Regions from separate parts of the Homo sapiens genome. Here all the other regions are linked to region 2. The links are contacts of gene promoters, found by promoter capture Hi-C in blood cells and fetal thymus (Javierre and others, 2016). All regions are on one chromosome and are shown on one strand. Each heading gives the region's core, a stretch centred on a gene start or on the middle of the fragment in contact. The rest is flanking DNA. Distances are from core to core; before and after follow the strand shown. Region 1 overlaps SAR1B (secretion associated Ras related GTPase 1B). Region 2 holds the start of PPP2CA (protein phosphatase 2 catalytic subunit alpha). Region 3 overlaps JADE2 (jade family PHD finger 2). Region 4 overlaps JADE2 (jade family PHD finger 2). Region 5 has its middle 7.2 kb from the start of JADE2. Region 6 overlaps SEC24A (SEC24 homolog A, COPII component). Region 7 has its middle 44 kb from the start of SAR1B.

The links. The method cuts DNA at HindIII sites, captures the fragments that hold promoters and counts their contacts. A CHiCAGO score of 5 or more calls a contact.
Region 1: a contact is called between a fragment that was not itself captured here and the fragment with the promoter of PPP2CA in region 2, in 7 of 17 cell types (total CD8 T cells, naive CD4 T cells, M1 macrophages and 4 more). The highest score is 10.3, in total CD8 T cells.
Region 3: a contact is called between a fragment that was not itself captured here and the fragment with the promoter of PPP2CA in region 2, in 1 of 17 cell types (neutrophils). The highest score is 8.1, in neutrophils.
Region 4: a fragment that was not itself captured here is called in contact with the fragment with the promoter of PPP2CA in region 2 in 2 of 17 cell types (neutrophils and activated CD4 T cells); the score reaches 5.3 in neutrophils.
Region 5: a contact is called between a fragment that was not itself captured here and the fragment with the promoter of PPP2CA in region 2, in 1 of 17 cell types (neutrophils). The highest score is 8.7, in neutrophils.
Region 6: a contact is called between a fragment that was not itself captured here and the fragment with the promoter of PPP2CA in region 2, in 2 of 17 cell types (activated CD4 T cells and endothelial precursors). The highest score is 6.0, in activated CD4 T cells.
Region 7: a fragment that was not itself captured here is called in contact with the fragment with the promoter of PPP2CA in region 2 in 6 of 17 cell types (fetal thymus, naive CD8 T cells, naive CD4 T cells and 3 more); the score reaches 10.1 in fetal thymus.

Annotation. Positions count from the first base shown.
Region 1 is chr5:134,606,593-134,609,390 of GRCh38, reverse strand. SAR1B (secretion associated Ras related GTPase 1B) reads left to right here. Exons shown (of 7, transcript NM_016103.4): 6 at 888-1,019; 7 at 2,325-2,798. The coding sequence ends at 2,441. Among named protein-coding and RNA genes, the nearest start is that of SAR1B, 25 kb to the left of the region's middle. The HindIII fragment of the contact is 163 bases long and covers 1,269-1,431 here.
Region 2 is chr5:134,224,604-134,227,406 of GRCh38, reverse strand. PPP2CA (protein phosphatase 2 catalytic subunit alpha) reads left to right here and starts at 1,334. Exons shown (of 7, transcript NM_002715.4): 1 at 1,334-1,647. The coding sequence starts at 1,546. MIR3661 (microRNA 3661) reads right to left here and starts at 1,650; the gene lies at 1,555-1,650. PPP2CA-DT (PPP2CA divergent transcript) reads right to left here and starts at 997. Exons shown (of 1, transcript NR_186539.1): 1 at 1-997. RefSeq lists enhancers at 34-553, 395-554, 554-1,075, 1,076-1,595, 1,935-2,044. The HindIII fragment of the contact is 2,287 bases long and covers 125-2,411 here.
Region 3 is chr5:134,536,988-134,539,687 of GRCh38, reverse strand. JADE2 (jade family PHD finger 2) reads right to left here. Exons shown (of 12, transcript NM_001388185.1): 3 at 1,605-1,699. Among named protein-coding and RNA genes, the nearest start is that of JADE2, 13 kb to the right of the region's middle. RefSeq lists enhancers at 1-878, 1,572-2,125. The HindIII fragment of the contact is 907 bases long and covers 870-1,776 here.
Region 4 is chr5:134,568,999-134,571,698 of GRCh38, reverse strand. All of the region lies in intron 9 of JADE2 (jade family PHD finger 2), which reads right to left. Among named protein-coding and RNA genes, the nearest start is that of JADE2, 45 kb to the right of the region's middle. The HindIII fragment of the contact is 2,607 bases long and covers 1-2,557 here.
Region 5 is chr5:134,517,130-134,519,878 of GRCh38, reverse strand. It overlaps the pseudogene RN7SL541P. Among named protein-coding and RNA genes, the nearest start is that of JADE2, 7.2 kb to the left of the region's middle. The HindIII fragment of the contact is 3,864 bases long and covers 1-2,749 here.
Region 6 is chr5:134,675,693-134,678,440 of GRCh38, reverse strand. SEC24A (SEC24 homolog A, COPII component) reads right to left here. Exons shown (of 23, transcript NM_021982.3): 7 at 2,316-2,418. Among named protein-coding and RNA genes, the nearest start is that of SEC24A, 28 kb to the right of the region's middle. The HindIII fragment of the contact is 2,710 bases long and covers 136-2,748 here.
Region 7 is chr5:134,587,694-134,590,393 of GRCh38, reverse strand. No RefSeq gene overlaps it. Among named protein-coding and RNA genes, the nearest start is that of SAR1B, 44 kb to the left of the region's middle. The HindIII fragment of the contact is 3,043 bases long and covers 1-2,700 here.

The DNA of each region.
Region 1 (2,798 bases), core at 101-2,600, 380 kb before region 2:
AGTAATTGTAGCTATTGAGGAAGTACTAACACAGACATCTTTTATGAAGACTTAAGAAGCTCACCCTGTACAGAATGTACCCTTTTAGTATATTTCATGTCTGTTATATTCCTGGAGTGGGTTGATCTTGAGTCCCTGGTCATGCTAAGATGCTATATCTTAAGCCACAGCCTGGAAATGATAGGACATGCCATCTTTGACACTACTCCCAGGAGTGAGCAGAGGCATATGTAGCTACCTCCCCTCCAGTATCCCAGGTCAGATATTTTGTAAAGGGGCCCAACAGCAGCAGGCAAGGTCAGCACCAGATCTGGGGCCACAGAGTAAGCAGGTCCATGATTTGATTGAAGGTTGATCATACCATGGCTCTGCCCAGAGCAGGCAAACAAATACTTGTACGTGTGGAAAAGTCCAGGTAGGTTCTATGGTTACAAAACAAGGACAGAGAATGCCTGAGTTCCTACTTTGTTCCAGAGACTGTGCGTATTACTTGATTTAATTCTCAATTTCATAGGGTGGATGCTACTGTTCCTAATTCTCTCTAGAGCTTCAGTCAGGCTAACTTGCCCAAAGTCACATCTCAAAAGCAGTAGAGCCAGAAGTGAAACCACATCTGTTCACTTCTAAGGTGCTGGCTCTATACGTTCTATGTCACTCCTTTAAAGGATGAGCAGAGTAAACATTTACAGGAAGAGCCTTAGGAAGACAGAAGAATTTAGCTTATGGTTTCATTGAGGTCACTTTAAAATGTGGGGAAAGTTTGACAAAGAACGTTGGTATGACATGATATGGTAGAAAATGAGTCCTTTATTGTTTTATCATATCAAAATAAGCTCTTTGGATGGTTTCATATCAACTCTTGTTTTGTATTGTTTTGTTTTTTTCAGTCACTAATGACAGATGAAACCATTGCTAATGTGCCTATACTGATTCTTGGGAATAAGATCGACAGACCTGAAGCCATCAGTGAAGAGAGGTTGCGAGAGATGTTTGGTTTATATGGTCAGACAACAGGAAAGGTAAAAAAAAAAAAAAAATTATGATGGGTGTGTTTAATTCTACAGTACAAATGTCTTCTTAAATTACTATTGTCCAACTATACAAGCCCATTATCATTTTCTTAAAGAAAACTGTCATTTATACCTGTGGGTCTTTTTAATGTCCTCATTTCTTTCTACCATGGAATGAAACATTTTCTTGGTGACAACAAAAATGTCAAGGATGAGTTATGCCTAAGGCTTGTGCTTATAGGAAACTAAATTAAAGCTTTCAAAGTTATTTATCATACATTTTCAGAATTAGCCACCAAACGATATATTTGAGTGTTTAAGTATACCAGTAGTGTGTTTAGGCCCTGAGTTTACCAGAGATAAATAAGACATAAACTTGGAATATTTTACGGTTTTCTGAACATATACTTTATAATAAGCTTTAAGACGGATTGTTTTGGTATTCACTTTTCCTAGGATTTATTTTGGGGGAAACATCAGCATTGAAAAAATCCAGATAAACAGTGGAAGAACCCCAGAGATTTACAAAATTTTTTTAGTTTACATATACTATTTCAGGGTGGAGAAATACTGCAGCATATAGCAGGAGGCTCTTTTTTTTTTTTTTTGAGATGGAGTTTTGCTCTTGTTGCCCAGGCTGGAGTACAATGGTGCAATCTCGGCTCATTGCAACCTCTGCCTCCCAGGTTCAAGCGATTCTCCTGCCTCAGCCTCCCTGGTAGCTGGGATTACAGGCGTGTGCCAGCACGCCCAGCTAATTTTGTATTTTTGGTAGAGACGGGGTTTCTCCATGTTGGTCAGTCTGGTCTCGAACTCCTGACCTCAGGTGATCCGCCCGCCTTGGCCTCCCAGAGTGCTGAGATTACAGGCATGAGCCACCACGCCCGGTCCGCAGGAGGCTCTTAAGTCAGACAAAGTAGACTTTGGTCTGTTTTCTGTCTTCTTTTTTATAAATTAGCTTGATATTAATTTTAGGAAATGCTTTGTTTGGTCATAAACCTTCTCAGGGAATGTTTGTCTTTAATATTAGTGAAGCCAGTTTGGATTTTTTTCTAAGTCAGATTATTTTTATTCTTGGGTATCTTGCAAGCTAACCTCTTTCCCACTGAGTGGCCATCCTGCCCTAAGGTAGAGTGAGAGAAGGAGGCTTCTTGTGTGTTCATGGGGCTTGGATGCCAAGCAGCCACGACTTTATCACAGTCATGGATTTATCACAGCCATTCTTTGTTCTAAAATAGAACCTATAATTCTGCTGGGATGTGGGGCTTTATTAATTTTATAAAATTCCAACGAAATGTCTCTCTTCTATTCTAGGGGAGTATATCTCTGAAAGAACTGAATGCCCGACCCTTAGAAGTTTTCATGTGTAGTGTGCTCAAAAGACAAGGTTACGGAGAAGGCTTCCGCTGGATGGCACAGTACATTGATTAACACAAACTCACATTGGTTCCAGGTCTCAACGTTCAGGCTTACTCAGAGATTTGATTGCTCAACATGCATAACTTGAATTCAATAGACTTTTGCTGGTTATAAAACAGATGTTTTTTAGATTATTAATATTAAATCAACTTAATTTGAATGAGAATTGAAAACTGATTCAAGTAAGTTTGAGTATCACAATGTTAGCTTTCTAATTCCATAAAAGTACTTGGTTTTTACAGTTTATAATCTGACATCACCCCAGCGCCATTTGTAAAGAGCAACTTTCCAGCAGTACATTTGAAGCACTTTTTAACAACATGAAACTATAAACCATATTTAAAAGCTCATCATGTTAAATTTTTTATG
Region 2 (2,803 bases), core at 85-2,584:
CAAGCATCGCTGAGCACTTGGGTGTGGAAGGGTTGCCTGATACTGAGGGTGGGGTTCCTGGAAGACAGGCGATCAGGTTCAGCTCTTGCCTTGCCCTTTATGGTTAAATGTTCTTTGGAAAGCTTCTATATCTTTCAAATCCTGGGGGCATTATGATCTCTCTTCTGCCTATCCCAAACCATCTTCAGCCAGTACTGTTGGGAGAATACAAGCTCCAGGGCATGGTCCCTGGTCCGTCTGGATGACCCCTCCGGATCTGGCATATAGCTGGCGCTCTATGGAACCAGATATTTATGTAAAAGCAGGGACAATGGAATGTGAAAACGTTTCGCAAACTCCAAAGCGATTCATAACCAGACAGAGGTCCAATCCTAGGGTATACGAGCTCTCTCTTTTAAGCACGTATCACAGCTGCTTCTCACGCCACCGAGACGCGGTCAGGACAGGTGCATCCATCTTCTCTGGGCTTCCCCTCTTGAAAGTAGGCCAGGGCGCGCAGGGGTTGAGGGTCTCTCATTCCCAGAGAGAATTAAACTTGGAGGAAAGCAACCACCGGCGAGGAGCGGGGCGCGTGGAAGCGAGCCGCGGTCCGAGGCCCAAAGAAAAGCCCAAGCCTCGCCCCCGCCATCGCGCCCGACGAGACACCTAGGTCCGGGGACGGGTGTGTGCCGCGGAAGTCAGGTGCACTGCGCAGCACTCCCCCGGTAGGTACACGCTCCTCCACCTACGAGTGACCTAATTACAAGGTGCCAGCCGCGCCCAGAGGTGGGGGTGGTTAATCCAAGCGGCCACTCGCTGCCCGTTCCTGCCCCCAAAGATGACGGAAACCCACACGATTACAGAGCCGCAGCACCCCAGATGAGCCACGGGGTCGCAATTCTCGTTTCCGTGATCGGACTGCCAGGCCCCAGGTGAGGAGCTGAGTTCATCACCAGAGCGGCCTTCCCAGGGGAACCAGTTACAGGCTGCCAGTGGCCCCGGCTTCCATCCGGTCTGCGCCTGCGCGCGGCCCAAGCCCTCGCCTCTCCTGGAATAGTGCTCAGGGATTAGTCCGGTTCGCCGCTGTGCGCACTGCGCATGCTCCAGCTCCATCCTTCCCTTCCCCCACCACCCCGCCCTCCGGGAGCCACGCCCAAAAAGTCAAGGCGCTTCAGTTACCAGCCGGCTACGTCGCGCCTGCGCTTTGACCCCCAGTTTGCGCCCCAACTCCGGTCGTGCGGCCGCCCGGGGAGGGCTCTGCAGTTGCGCAGCTTGCTCCCCGGCCCTTTTCCCCTCCGCTCCCCGCCGCCTCCTGACGCCGGGCGTGACGTCACCACGCCCGGCGGCCGCCATTACAGAGAGCCGAGCTCTGGAGCCTCAGCGAGCGGAGGAGGAGGCGCAGCGGCCGACGGCCGAGTACTGCGGTGAGAGCCAGCGGGCCAGCGCCAGCCTCAACAGCCGCCAGAAGTACACGAGGAACCGGCGGCGGCGTGTGCGTGTAGGCCCGTGTGCGGGCGGCGGCGCGGGAGCAGCGCGGAGCGGCAGCCGGCTGGGGCGGGTGGCATCATGGACGAGAAGGTGTTCACCAAGGAGCTGGACCAGTGGATCGAGCAGCTGAACGAGTGCAAGCAGCTGTCCGAGTCCCAGGTCAAGAGCCTCTGCGAGAAGGTGAGCTGTAGTACGGCTGCGGACAGCCGCCGCGGGGCCGAGCCCGCCGAGGAAAAGGCGGCCGTGAGGAGGGTGCAACATGGCGGAGGCCGCCGGTCCGGGCCCCCCGAGTCTCCGAGACCGGCGCCCATCCTGGCCGGCGGCGGCTTCCTAACGACCCGGCGCCCCCTGCCTCCCGCGCAGGGATTGGTTGCCGCCGCCGCCTAAAATGGCGCCGTTCACTCGACTCCTGGGCTTTTGAGTCAGCCGGCCTTGGCGCCAGACGAGGTGGCAGGGGGAGCGGAGACCCTGTGGGTCATCGTCAGGGACGGTTTTGAGGGTGAGCTGGCTTGGATTCTGCGGCTTGGGAATGGAGCCTGGGCCTCTCCGGTGGGCTGAGTAAGAGTCTTGCCGCTGGTACCCAGGCCTAGTTAGGTCCAGAGCTGCCCAGAGGATCCCCCAAAGGCAGTCTTGTTAGGCCGTATCCCAGAACATACCTAAAGGTCACACAGCTTTAGTACCCCTTGGTGGTTTGTATTAAACTCACCAAGCGATCTTCTCCAGAAATCAAGGTAAGGGGTGTCTTTAAGAATTTTTAAATTATTCTCTTAACCTAATTTTTACGAAGGTCATGGTGGTAGCTATAAGGGAGGAGTGTAACTTATTTTTCATAGTTGGAAGAAATCGGGAATTTGGTGAGTCATACTACATAAGGAGCTTTTGGATTGGAAATCAAGTGTCGGTTGAATATGATTTATATGCTGACTCAAAGCCTTCTCTAAGCTTAACACACTTGGCATTTTGCCGTTTATTTTTAAAATGAACAACATAAAATGGAAGAGCGGTAAATTTTGTATCTTTGTTGCAAAAATTACTTGATAGTATTTTGTGGCTGCAAGTAGTAGTAGTGATAATAACTGTCGACTGAGATTGTATTCCAGACATTGTGCTTAGTGTTTAAATAATGTCTCACATACACTGAAAATAGAATGTTGTAGTCCACTTAGTAACACTAAACTTTATATTAGCTAATTCCCTTTTGTTTTCCCCTGGGGGTTGGGGAAACAGGTAGTTAATTTAGCTATTAGCTTTGTGTTGTATTTTTAAATTCTTGTAACTCAGTTTTCTAAAGTACACAAAATGCTGATCTCTGCTGTGAACATTTTAACTTCCCTTT
Region 3 (2,700 bases), core at 74-2,573, 310 kb before region 2:
TCTGCCCTTGGCATTGTGAGCCCCAAGGATTTAAGGTCTTGGCTAAATGACCTTGCGATCCTCACTTTCCTTATTTTCAACAGGACTGAGAAATTCTGGGCTAGTTTTAATGATTAAAAAGGAGTGTCCAGCCCCAGTGCCTGGCTACTTCTTGGCTGTAGTACAGTGTCCTACTTAAGAGCCAGGATTGGCCGGGCGCGGTGGCTCACGCCTGTAATCCCAACACTTTGGGAGGCCGAGGCAGGTGGATCACCTGAGGTCAGGAGTTCAAGACCAGCCTGGCCAACATGGTGAAACCCCATCTCTACTAAAAATACAAAAATTAGGCCGGGCGCGGTGGCTCATGCCTGTAATCCCAGCACTTTGGGAGGCCAAGGCGGGCGGATCACAAGGTCAGGAGGTCGAGACCATCCTGGCTAACACGGTGAAACCCCGTCTCTACTAAAAAAATACAAAAAATTAGCCGGGTGTGGTGGCGGGCGCCTGTAGTCCCAGCCACTCGGGAGGCTGAGGCAGGAGAATGGCGTGAACCCAAGAGGCGGAGCTTGCAGTGAGCCGAGATCACGCCACTGCACTCCAGCCTGGGCAACAAAGCAAGACTCCATCTCAAAATAAATAAATAAATAAATAAATAAATAAATAAAATAAAAATAAAAATACAAAAATTAGCTGGGTGTGCTGTGTGCACCTGTAATCCCAGCTACTCGGGAAGCTGAGGCAGGAGAGGCATTTGAACCCAGGAGGCAGAGGTTGAAGTGAGCCGAGATCATGCCACTGCACTCCAGCCTGGGGAACAGAGAGAACCTCAGTCTCCAAAAAAAAAAAAAGAGCCAGGATTAAGACCCTCCATCTCTCCATCTCTCCAAGCTTCTGCAGCCCCATCTGTGCCAAAGGCTTCTTCTGTGGTCAGTGCAATGAATACCTTGTGGCATTAGCACTGAAGACCTACAAGAAGGAGCAATAAGGCCCTAGGGTGGGAGTTTTCAGGGACCCCAGAAGGAGGGTCCAGGTGTCCAGGAGTCTACCCACCCCCAGTGCGCTTCTCAGTTCCAGAGGCCATAAACCTCTACCTGCTGTAAGAAACATCCCAGGTCAAAGTAAGGAAGGCTTCAAATGCAGATGCCTGTGAAATGGGTATAAGGAACCTATGACTAATTGGATGGCTCTGAGGACTCCACCCCTTATCCCTGCACCAGCAAATCCTTATCACTCTTGGCTCGGCCTCCAAAATGTCACAAACCCTGCTGCTTCTCATTCCACTGCTACCACCCAGCTCTAAGCCACCACTATTTCCCTGCTGGATGACTGCAACTCTCCCTTCTCTCACAGCGGCCAGGGGGAACTTTCACTAAAACATCAGGCTGTGTCATTACCCTGTCTGAGATCCTTGAAAGGCTTCTCCCCTTGCTCAGTTCAATAGGAACATCTTCACAACAACCTGGAAGGCTGAGGGAAACTGGCCCCTACTCCCCTTCATTCCACTCGGCCACGCTGGCCTCCCTCTGCACTGCCCGTGCCCTCTGCCAGGAATGCTCTGCCCCAGTCTCCGCAGGGCAGCTCACTCTCACTCCCCACAGATCTCTGGGAAGCTCATCACTACCCACCTCGGAGGGCTTCTTTTCGTTCTGTCGGGGCCAGCCCGACTTGGTGCTGCTGGGCAGTTTGGAGCATCTTGATGCGGATGTAGATGTCGCATGACCTGCAGAGAGAGAACAGTCCATTAGGGGTCCTGGAGGGCCAGGAGCACCACCCACTCATGCCCAAGAATAGGAAGCTTCTAAGCAAAGCCCCGGCTAGAATGTTCATGAGGGAGAAACCTCTGTGAGACCTAGTATCCCTGCTCTGGGCCTCAGTCTCCCCACTGATGAATGGGGACATGAAGCCTCCTCTACTCGCCAACCAGAAGGCTGGAGAAATCAAAGGCTGTTACTGGGGCTCAGTATTAGTTTAATGTGTGACCCCAGACAAGTCCTTGGCCCTCTGTGGGACTCTGCTCAAAGACAGCTGGAATAAGCCTTTCATGCCCACACTCCACCCTGCCCCAGGTTAGGTACTGTCCAAATACTCTGGGATGATGCCAGTGGGTATTCAGAGGCAGAGCAGGGCAATGGGAAGAGAGATGCTCTGAAGCAGATCCAGGTCATCAGCAGAGCCCTGACCCAGCCACTTACTAGCTTGTCACCCCAGGCAAATGACTCAATCTTGCTGAGCCTTAGTTTGTTCTTCTGTAAAATGGGGGCAAAAGAATAACTATCTTCAAAGGGCTGTGGTGAGGAATAAGTGATATCATGCCTGTAAAGTCTCAGCACAGTCCCTGGCACAGAGTGATTCCTCAATAAACATTAGCTATAATTATTAGGGTCTAAGGCCCTTGCTGGATGACAGTGCTGTGGCCTCCGCCCTTATGAATCAAAGGAGCAGCAAGAAATAGGGCAACACTATGGTTTTGGCTGAATAGGAGTAGCAGCCATGGGTGGGCACAGTGGAGGGGGCTGGTGGGGAGCCTTGCAGGTACCTGGCTCTCTCAAAGGGCTCCTCTGCCTGCAATAAAGTTAGAAATGGAGGATGTGGTTTTTGGTTCCACTGAGCCAGGCCACAGGCAGCATGTTGTAGCCACAAAAGGCCAGATGCTGTGATCTCCTGCTGTAGGGAAGAAGGGCTGGCCAGGTGGGACGCCAGAGCCAAACTGAGCAAACAGAG
Region 4 (2,700 bases), core at 5-2,504, 340 kb before region 2:
TCGAGACGGGGTCTCGGTCTGTCGCCTAGGCTGGAGCGCAGTGGCACAGTCTTGGCTCACTGCAACCTCGGCCTCCCGGGTTGAAGCCATTCTCCTGCCTCAGCCTCCCACGTAGCTGGGATTACAGGTGCCTGCCACCACACCTGGCTAATTTTTGTATTTTTAGTAGAGATGGGGTTTCACCATGTTGGCCAGGCTAGTCTTGAACTCCTGACCTCCTGATCCGCCCACCTTGGCCTCCCAAAGTTCTGGGATTACAGGCGTGAGCCACCGCGCCCGGCCCAGGGCTGGATTTTCACAGAGTAGTGAGACACTTCCCTTCTCCCCTTAAAACCTCCAGTGGCTTCTGTACGGGATTGAATAGTGTTCCCCCAAATTCATTTTTACTGGGACCCTTGCAATGTGACCTTATTTGGAAATAGAGTCTCTGTAGATATAAATAGTTAAGATGAGGTCATACTACATTAGGGTGGGCCCTTGATCTACTATGAGTGGAGTCCTGACACAGGTGCCTACAGGGAGAAGGCCATGTGACCTGGCAGAGGCAGAGGCCAGACAGATGTCCGCAGGCCAAGGAACAGCAAAGATTCCTGGCAACCACCAGAAGCTGGGAGGCACGGAGAGACTCCCCCGCAGAGCCTCCGGCAGGAACTAATCCTGCTGACACCTCAACCTTGGGCTTCCAGCCTCCAAAACCATGAGGATAAATCTCACCATCCAGCTGGTGGCACACGGGCAGGCCTAGGAAACTAACAGGGATGCTGGGCATGAGATGCCGGTGGCCTTTAAAAGGGACTTGGTGTGGAGCTCAAAAGGGAGGGGCAGCCAGCACCCCCACGTGGGGCAAAACTGTGGGCAGCCGTGAAAGACAGTGGAGCCTGAGGTCTCCAGCCCTGGGAGTGAGCAGTCAGGGGAGAGCAATGGATGACCATTGAGGCCAAGGAGCAGCCAGAGAGGGAGGGGGGTAAACCAGGACCTCAGGGGGGACCTGGTCAGAGCATCACAGAAAAAGGACTCCAAGACTAAGGGCAGGTCTGATTGTGGCAGCCGCTGCTGAGAGGATCGGGGGATGGAGAGGTGGGCAGGGAGGCTGCAGGCAGCCCAGGTGGCAGGCTCTGGGATGTGGCGGAAACCCGGCCAGAGTGGGCAGCAAGGATGCAAATACCATGAGGGATGACAGGAAAGGAGAGATGGGGGTGGGAGCGGAGGAACCCACGACTAGAGGGAAATAGGGAGGGAGGATTCGCTTTTGAAGATGAGAGAGGGTTGAACAGATTCAAATATTGGTGGAAAAGGACCCGCAGAGGGGATGAAGAAAAGACAGACTCGTCAGCTGCAGGTGTGGGCTGGAAAAGAGCCCCTGTGGGGGAAGGAAGACAGGAGGGAAGGGAAGAGAATGGACCGAGAGGCTCGGCTGGCAGAAGTTAGAGGCCCTGGTATGAGGACAGAGGGGACGCTGTCCTGAGGGAGGCAGGGCTCAGCATGTGGGCAGCAGGTATGAGGTGGGGTGTGCGGCAGGGACTGCCCTGCTCAGCGCTATGGGATTTCTCCTGGTGGAGGGAGTGGCTCTTACTGGGTGAGGCTCTGCCAGGGTTCTGGCCTCAGTGAGGGACAAGGGCTGGGGCATAGCAGGCCAGTGCCATACAGGGAGTGAGTGAAGAAAGCAGGACAAAGAAGGGTGGAGGGCCTGGGAGACAAGTGAGCAGGGAGAGCAGTAGACTGCAGGCACGGAGCAGGATGTGGCAATTTCTGGGCTACTGACCTGGGAGCAGCTGGAGGTGGTGACTGGGCTTGGGTGAGGCAAGGGCACTAATGGGTTGGGGGAGCCCTAGAGATGGAAGGCACAGGGGCAGAAGAGCCAGAGGTCTGCAGGCTGGAGCTGCCCAGGACAAGGTTGGCTTTGGTGGGAGGCCAAAGGGACCACCATCCAGGCACTGAGGCCAGGACCCACTTCCTTCTGAGCCTTTCCCTCCTTGGGAAGTTGTCCCATATCATCCTCTGGGCAGGTGTGTGTCTCAGAGCCGCCTCCACCCTCTTGGCCTCCTCCTCAGGCCAGGTCAGGCTCCCAAATAAACTCCTGGTGACCAGAGCCAGAGCCACAAGCAGCAAGTCCCTGCACAGCCTGCTTGTCAGCACGGTTGCTAGGGGACACCAGCCGGCACTTGTCGGGCTGATCAACAGTGCTGCGATTTTTGTCAGCCGTAAATAACTCTGGGAGGCTGCAGTGGCCATGCCTTCCGAGCGTCCGCTGGGGCCGAGGCCCAAGGCTGAAATTTTAGGAAAGCACATCTGGTTGACCATAAAATGGGATTTCATGCCGGCAGCAGCCCCGGCTCCTGTTTCTCTCAGCAAAACCCCTGCCTGGCTGAGGAGGAACGAATCAATCTGGGAGGATGCTGGGTTCCCAGGCCCTAGCACTGGGCCTGCCCTTTTGGTCCTCTGTGGAGCCCACCCTCAGAGCGCACGGGCTGGCCTCCCTTCTTCTAAGAGCCAAATGCTGAGGGGCCAGGACAGTAACAACAATCACGGCCAACAATGGAGGGCACTGTGCTAAGCTTTGTCCCCCACATGCACTGTGACCCCAAGGTCAGTCTGATCCTTATTCCCATTTTACAGACAAAGAAACTGAAACTCAGAGAAGTAGAAACTGAAACAAAGAAGGTATAGAGCTGGGAGTGCAGGAACTGGATGCAAAGTCAG
Region 5 (2,749 bases), core at 92-2,591, 290 kb before region 2:
CTGTCGCCCAGGCTGGAACGCAGTGGCACGATCTGGGCTCACTGCAACCTCCGCCTCCCAGGTTCAAGCGATTCTCCTGCCTCAGCCTCCCAAGTTGCTGGTATTACAGGTACACATCACCATGCCCAGCTAATTTTTGTATTTTTAGTAGAGACAGGGTTTCTCCATGTTGGCCAGGCTGGTCTCGAACTCCCGACCTCAGGTGATCCACCCGTCTCGGCCTCCCAAAGTGCTGGGATTACAGGCGTAAGCCACTGCACCTGGCCCCAGCCTTTTTTTTGAGATGGAGTCTCACTCTTGTCGCCCACGCTGGAGTGCAGTGGCACCATCTTGGCTCACTGCAACCTCTGCCTCCAGGGTTCAAGTGATTCTCCCGCCTCAGCCTCCTAAATAGCTGGGATTATAGGTGCCACCATCATACCCAAGTACTTTTTGTATTTTTAGTAGAGATGGGGTTTCACCATGTTGGCCAGGTCTCGAACTCCTGACCTCAAATTATCCGCCCGTCTTGGCTTCCCAAAGTGCTGGGATTACAGGCGTGAACCACCGTGCCCGGCCAAAAATTGCAGATATCTGAGCCTTATCCCCAGAGGTTCTCAGTAGGCAGGTCTGGGGCAGGGCCCGCAACTTTTTTTTTTTTTTCAATTAAAAAAAATATCTGCAGTGTTTTATTTTTTTGAGATTACAGGAGGCTGCCACCATGGCTGGCTAATTTTTGTATTTTTAGCAGAGATGGGGTTTCACCATGTTGGCCAGGCTGGTCTTGAACTCTTGACCTAAGGTGATCCACCCACCTTGGCCTCCCAAAGTGCTGGGATTACAGGCATAAGCCACTGCGCCCAGCCAAAACCTGCAGCTTTTAACAAGTACTTGGTCATTCATAATGTACATGGCATTGAACCACACTTTGTGAAACACTGAGAACATGTCCACATGGTTCCATGCACTGGCCTGGCGCTCAGTCATTGCTCATTAGACAATAGCTATTTTTCCAGGGGTCCTGGTTCGGAACAAAAATTCTTTTTTTAGTTTTTGTAGAGACAGGGTCTTGCTATGTTGTCCAGGCTGGTCTCGATCTCTTGGGCTCAAGCAACCCTCCCGCCTTGGCCTCCCAGAATGTTGGAATTACAGGAGTGAGCCACTCCACCTGGCTAAAAAAAAAATATATATATATATATATATATATACACACACATATATATGTGTGTGTGTATATATATATATTTTTATATATATACATATATATATATATATATACATATATATATATATATATATATATTTTTTTTTTTTTTTAAGACACAGTTTCACTCTGTTGCCTAGGCTGGAGTGCAGTGGCGCCATCTCGGCTCACTGCAACCTCCCCCTCCTGGGTTCAAGTGATTCCCTTGCCTCAGTCTCCCGACTAGCTGGGATTACAGCTGTGCACCACCACACCCAGCTAATTTTTTTTTTCTTTTTGAGATGGAGCTTCGCCCTTGTTGCCCAGGCTGGAGTGCAGTGGCACGATCTTGGCTCGCTGCAACCTACGCCTCTTGGGTTCAAGTGATTCTCCTGCCTCAGCCGCCCGAGTAGCTGGGATTACAGGCACCCGCAACCACGCCAGGCTAATTTTTTGTATTTTTAGTAGAGACGGGGTTTCACCATGTTGGCCAGGCTGGTCGTGAACGCCTGACCTCAAGTGATCCGCCCGCCTCGGCCTCCCAAAGTGCTGGGATTACAGGCGTGTGCCACTGCGCCCGGACTAAAAATCCTTTCAAATAACTTTCAGTACATGTCCAGATGCAGAAGTACAGCATACCCTAAAAACCCTAAACTGAGAGAATAGTATAAGATTGGTTCAACATTCATTCCCAGGATATTTATTGCCTGCTATGTTCCGACCTGGGTCAGTTCACCCCTCCTTAGGCAACTTCGTGGTCCCCTGCTCCCAGGAGGTCACCATATTGATGCCAAACTTAGTGCAGACACCCAATCCACATAATGAACTACCACACAGAACTCCTGGGCTCAAGCAGTCCTCCCGCCTCAGCCTCCAGAGACTACAGGCACGTGCCACCACACCTGGCACTTGCTATGTTCAAGGCGGTATACAAGGGTTGGAAAGAAACAGAAAATACCTGACTCAACAATTTGAGTCATCAAGGTAGGCAGAAGCCGCAGATGTAGTTAGCCACACTCCCCAGCAGCCCACTTCTGTGCCAGGTGAGAAGTCCTCATTTGGGTTCTAGACTTGTATTCACATACTCACTGCTTAGGGCAATGCTTGTCCGACTACACTATGCACACAAATTACCTGGGATCTTGTTCAGATGCAAAGTCTGATTCATTAAGTCTGGGAGAGCTAAAAGTCTGCATTCTTTTAAATTTATTTTTTATTTATTTTATTTTATTTCAAGCGATTCTCCTGTCTCAGCCTCCCGAGTAGCTGGGATTACATACGCATGCCACCATGCCCAGCTAATTTTTTGTATTTGAGTAGAGACGGGGTTTCACCGTGTTGCCCAGGCTAGTCTCGAACTCCTGAGCTCAGGCAGTCCACCTGCCTCGGCCTCCCAAAGTGCTAGGATTACAGGCGTGAGCCACTGTGCCCGGCCTTTTTTATTTTTATTTATTTATTTATTTTTTGAGACAGGGTCTCACTCTGCTGCCCAGGCTGGAGTGCAATGGTGCAATCACAGCTCACTGCAACCTCGACCCACCTCCTAGGCTCAAGAGATCCTCATGCCTCAGCCTCCCGTGTAGCTAG
Region 6 (2,748 bases), core at 241-2,740, 450 kb before region 2:
GTTAAAAAAATAAAACCAAGATGGTAAATTTACAATGTACTTTTGGCATAAATGGCAAAGAAAAAAAAATCAACATTCTAAAATATATGACCAATGAAACTATTACAAAGTTTGTTGATGTTACATTAAGAAGCTTACTTAGTTCTCAACTATAATAAAGTAAGGTGAGGTTAATTTAAATAACCAGTTAAACTTTGGAATTACACTCCTAGTTAAAGTTTATCCTACATATTAAAAGTTCTAAAGTCTTAGCTGGGTATAGTGGCCAATGCCTACAGTACCACTTACTCTGTCTGGAGGCTGAGGCAGGAGGACTGCTTGAGCCCAAGAGTTCAAGGCTGCAGTGAGCTATGATCATGGAACTGCACTCTAACCTGGGTGACAACGAGAGACCCGGTCTCTAATAAATAAATAAATAAATAACAGTAAATACGTGGGAAGGGTCTTTGTAAGACTATCAGATTTGGGGAGATTTGTTTTGATTTACCAGAAACCCTGAGACAGGTGAACACTGATCAACTTAACTGAGAGCCAGTGCCTTGGACAACAAAGTGACATAGCATCTCATCTTTAAAGAAAGGTTTTATTTATCTTTTTTTTTTTTTTTGAGACAGTCTCACTCTATTGCCCAGACTGGAGTACAGTGTGGGATCTTGGCTCACTGCAACCTCCACCTCCCGGGTTCAAGCGATTCCCTTGCCTCAGCCTCCCCAGTAGCTGGGATTATAGGTGTGCATCACCATGCTTGGCTAAATTTTCTATTTCTGGTAGAGACGAGTTTCACCACGTTGGCCAGGCTGGTCTTGAATTCCTGACCTCAGGTGATCTGCCCGCCTCAGCCTCCCAAAGTGCTAGGATTACAGGTGTGAGCCACTGCACCTGGCCTTTATTTTTTTTTTTTAAGATAAGGATCTCATACCCAATCCTGGGCAATGCAGTTAAGACTCTGCTTCTTAAAAAAAAAAAAAAAAATCAATACAGGCAATAAAATTATATCACCACCAAAAAAATCCTATCACCAAAAGTAGTGTGTTTTGGGAAAGTCAGCAATCCTCAAGAGTATGTGGCCACAGAGCTTTAGGACAAAGGTAGATCAGTTTCTTTTTTCTTCTGAAATAACTTTTCTTTTTGGATACAGGGTCTCACTCTGCCACCCAGGCTGGAGTGCAGTAGTACAATCATGTCTCACTGCAGCCTCAACCTCCTGGGCTCAAGTGATCCTCCCACCTTAGCCTCCCGAGTAGCCAGGACTAAGCTGGTCTTGAACTCATAGACCCAAGCAATTCTCCCACCTTGGCCTCCAAAAGTGCTGGGATTACAGGCCATGAGCCACCATGTCTGGCTTAAAACAACTTTTTAAAATAACAAATTTTACTGCAAGGATGGCAGAACGGGGAGACTAGGGTAAAGTACTTTAATGGGTAAATAATTCACAACCTATTAAAATAGTATGATTCATTTATTTAGTTTCTCTCAGTACCTCTATTCTATTCAGTACTTTTTGAATTTTCCAGCAATATACTTACTTTACCTAGTATTTGAAAGTGTTTAGTAATAAAATTTTTGGTTGAATTGTAAGTAATCTGTCAATCATCGACTTCCTAAAGACAGATCAAACAAATTCTATATGTAATTCTTGCATCATTGCAGAAAATTTTCATCACCAAGATAATTTTGCACAAAAGACATTTACCTTCACTAAAGAGGCCGGGTGTAGTGGCTCAGGCCTATAAATCCCAGCACTTTGGGAGGTGGGCAGATCACTTGAGGTCAGTTCGAGACCAGTCTGGCCAACATGGTGAAACACCATCTCTACTAAAAATAAAAAAATTAGCTGGGTGTGGTGGCAGATGCCTATAATGCCAGCTACTTAGGAAGCTGAGGCAAGAGAATTGCCCGAACCTGGGAGGCGGAGATTGCGGTGAGCCGAGATCTCGCCACTACACTCCAGCCTGGGCGACAGTGAGACCCAGTCTCAGAAAAAAAAAAAAAAAAAAAAAAAGAGCCGGGCGCAGAGGCTCACGCCTGTAATTCCAGCACTTTGGGAGGCCAAGGCAGGTGGATCACGAGGTCAGGAGTTCAAGACCAGCCTGGCCAAGATGGTGAAACCCCCTCTCTACTAAAAATACAAAAATTAGCCAGGCACGGTGGCAGGCACCTGTAATCCCAGCTACTAGGGAGGCTGAGGCAGGAAAATCACTTGAACATGGAGGGCAGAGGTTGCAATAAGCTGAGACTGCGTCACTGCACTCCAGCCTGGGCGACAGAGGGAGACTCCGTCTCAAAAAAAAAAAAAGAAAAGAAAAGAAACATACCACTAAGTCTTTGAAAGGATGAAGCAGCAGCCCCAAAGGAAGTTTGGCTTTATTCAATAAGGCCTGCGTCTGAGGAATGCTAGTCAGCGTGCATCGAAATAACCTATATCAAAGTAAAAAGTATGTATCAGTTGCTGCTATGATTATTTTTGAAGAAAACAACAACAAAGATTTAAAAGGTATACATTTTAATACTGGATCAGATTACAGATGAAATATTTCAATAGAGTCTCAAAATTTTATCCCATTTAAATATTTAAATCTAAGTCCTATGCAGAAATAGAGTGGATGGTTATCCTATAACTAAAATATAGTCTCTTTTTGGCTTGTGTGTAAAACAGTCTAAACTATCAAATGACTTATTTTTTGTTTTGTAAGTCTAGTTGACACTGGAATTAAATTAAACTTAGGTGATGGCCCAAATTGCAAAGTC
Region 7 (2,700 bases), core at 200-2,699, 360 kb before region 2:
TTCTCCCATTGTACAGATGCAGAAGTATCTCCCAAGTAGCTGGGTCCATCAAGTCAGTGGCAGAGAGAAGACTTCTCGCTCCTGGGTCAGCCGTAATTTCCTAGAGCAGTGTGCAAAAAGCCTTTTAGGGAAGGGAGGTGATTATAATTTCAAAAGAGCTTTGAGTTTGAGTTTGAGTTGGGGGACTTAGGGGAGTCACGGATGGTGCTCTAGGAAAAGCAGAGGCCCAACATGAACTCTTTTTAAAAAAAAACTGTTTTAAAATGGTTTCTTCTGATGGCCGGGCACGGTGGCTCACGCCTGTAATCCCAGCACTTTGGGAGGCTGAGGCAGGCGGATCACTTGAGGCCAGAGTTTGAGACCAGCCTGGCCAATGTGGCGAAACCCTGTCTCTACTAAAAATACAAAAATTAGCTCGTTGTGAGTGCCATAATGCCAGCTACTTGAGGGGCTGAGGCACAAGAATTGCTTGAACCCAGGAGGTGGAGGTTACAGTGAGCCAAGATCGTGCCACTGCACTCTAGCCTGGGTGACAGAGTGAAACTATCTTAAAAAAAAAAATTCCCCAGAAGTAAAATAAAATGGTTTCTTTTGCTTTACATTATGTTTGTTGCAACAAAGCAGTTGGGTGGTATTACATGTAGCAGGTTTTTTTTTTTTTCTACAGTATCATTTTTTTCTTAAACTGCAGCAAAACAAACAAACAAAAACCCCAAAAACACAAAATTCACTCTCCCGGGCTAGGTACGTGTAATCCAGCACTTTGAGATTCCTCGAGCTCAGAGGTTTGAGACCAGCTTGAGCAACTTGGCGAGACCCTGGCTCTACTAGAGAAAACAAAACAAAACAAAACACAACAAAAACAGCTGGTCATGATAGTGTGTGCCTGTGGTCCTAGCTATTCGGGAGGCTGAGGTGGGAGGAGCACTTGAGCCTGGGGGCATGCAGAGGTTGCAGCAAACCAAGATCGTGCCACTGTACTCCAGCCTGGGTGACAGAGTGAGACCCTGTCTCAAAAATAAAAAAATAAATTCACCCTCCCAACAATTTCCAAGTGTAAAGTACAATATTGTCAACCACATGCCATTGATGGGCAGCAGAGCCCTGGAACCACCCTCCCGTCCTGACTCTGTGCCTCCTAATCAATTCTCTTCCTCCTCCCCCCAGCCCCTGGCAACTACCTTTCTACTTTCTGCTCTATGATTTTGACTACTCTAAGTACCTCCTATAAGTGGAATCATACAGCATTTGACTTTTTTTGACTGGCTTATTTTGCTTAGCATAATTTCCTGCAGGTTGATCCATGCTGTAGCACAGGACAGGATTTCCTTCTTTTTTAAGGCTGAATAATATTCCATTGTATGTGTATACATTTTCTTTATCCATTCATCTGTCAATGGATATTTAGGTTGCTCCTACCTCTTGGCTATTGTGAACAGTGCTCCCACCAATCTGAACTCTTTAGATGTTGAGCTGAGACAGCAAATAAATGGGCTTGTGAGCTCTGGGGAGCAGAGGTCCTTCAAGGACACTACGGAGCTTCTGTTCAGCATTGGATTGGAATGTCAGGTATAAGGGAGGCTGTGGCTGAGTTAAGACAGGCCCAGCTGTGTCCTGGGTCACTGGCTGCAGCCCATTTTCCATTGTTCTCACACTGTAGGTGTCATCATGTTGGGGTTGTTGGGATAGTTTAGGATTTGCCACAGTGTATAAAACATGGAAAACCATGCTCCTGCCTCAGCCCCCTGCCTGGAACACAGTGGAAAGAGGGACCTGAGGCTTCCCACTAGGAATGCCAGGGAAAATACAGGATGCAATATTTGGAAAATGTACTGAGGAACTACTCTCTGAAATTTGAATGTAACTACATGCCCTATATTTTTATTTGCTAAATCTGACAGCCTCCCTCCTACCCACTGAAAATCTCTCCAGCCAGCAAATGGGGACCCTGTATCCCTACCCATGTTTCCTCAGAATGGGCTGGTGCGGATGCTTCTGAGCTCAGGCCTGGCTTGGAGTACTGGGGGCCAAGCAATACTCTGCTACGATGAGCTTGCCCTTAAGCCACCTGCTTGACTGAAACCCCATCCTTTCTTCCCTCCCTTTGACTCTTGGCAGGGAGTCCATCTGAACTCAAAAGGCTGCCTTGAAGTCCATATTTTATTATCTCTCTAAAAAAATTTTCTTCAGACAGGTATGGTGGTTCATGCCTGTAATCCCAGAGCTTTGAGAGACCAAGGGCTGAGGTGGGAGGATCACTTGAGCCCAGGAGTTGAAGGCTACAGTGAGCTGTGATTGCACCACTGTGCTCTAGCCTAGGCAGCAGAGTGAGACCCTATCTCAAAGAGTGAGACCCTGTCTCTTTTTTTTTTTTTTTTTTTTTTTTTTTTTTTTTTGCAGTAGAGATGAGGTCTCACTATGTTGCTCAGGCTGGGCCTGAACTCATGGGCTCAAGCGATCTTCCCAATTCAGCTTCCTAAAGCACTGGTATTACAGACATGAGCCACCACTCCTGGCCAATCTCCTTTTTTTTTCAGATGGAGTCTTGCTCTGTCACCCAGGCTGGAGTGTGATGGCACCATCTCGGCTCACTGCAACCTCTGCTTCCTGGGTTCAAGGGATTCTCCTGCCTCAGCCTCCTGAGTAGCTGGGATTACAGGTGCCCGCCACCATGCCTGGCTGATTTTTGTATTTTTAGTG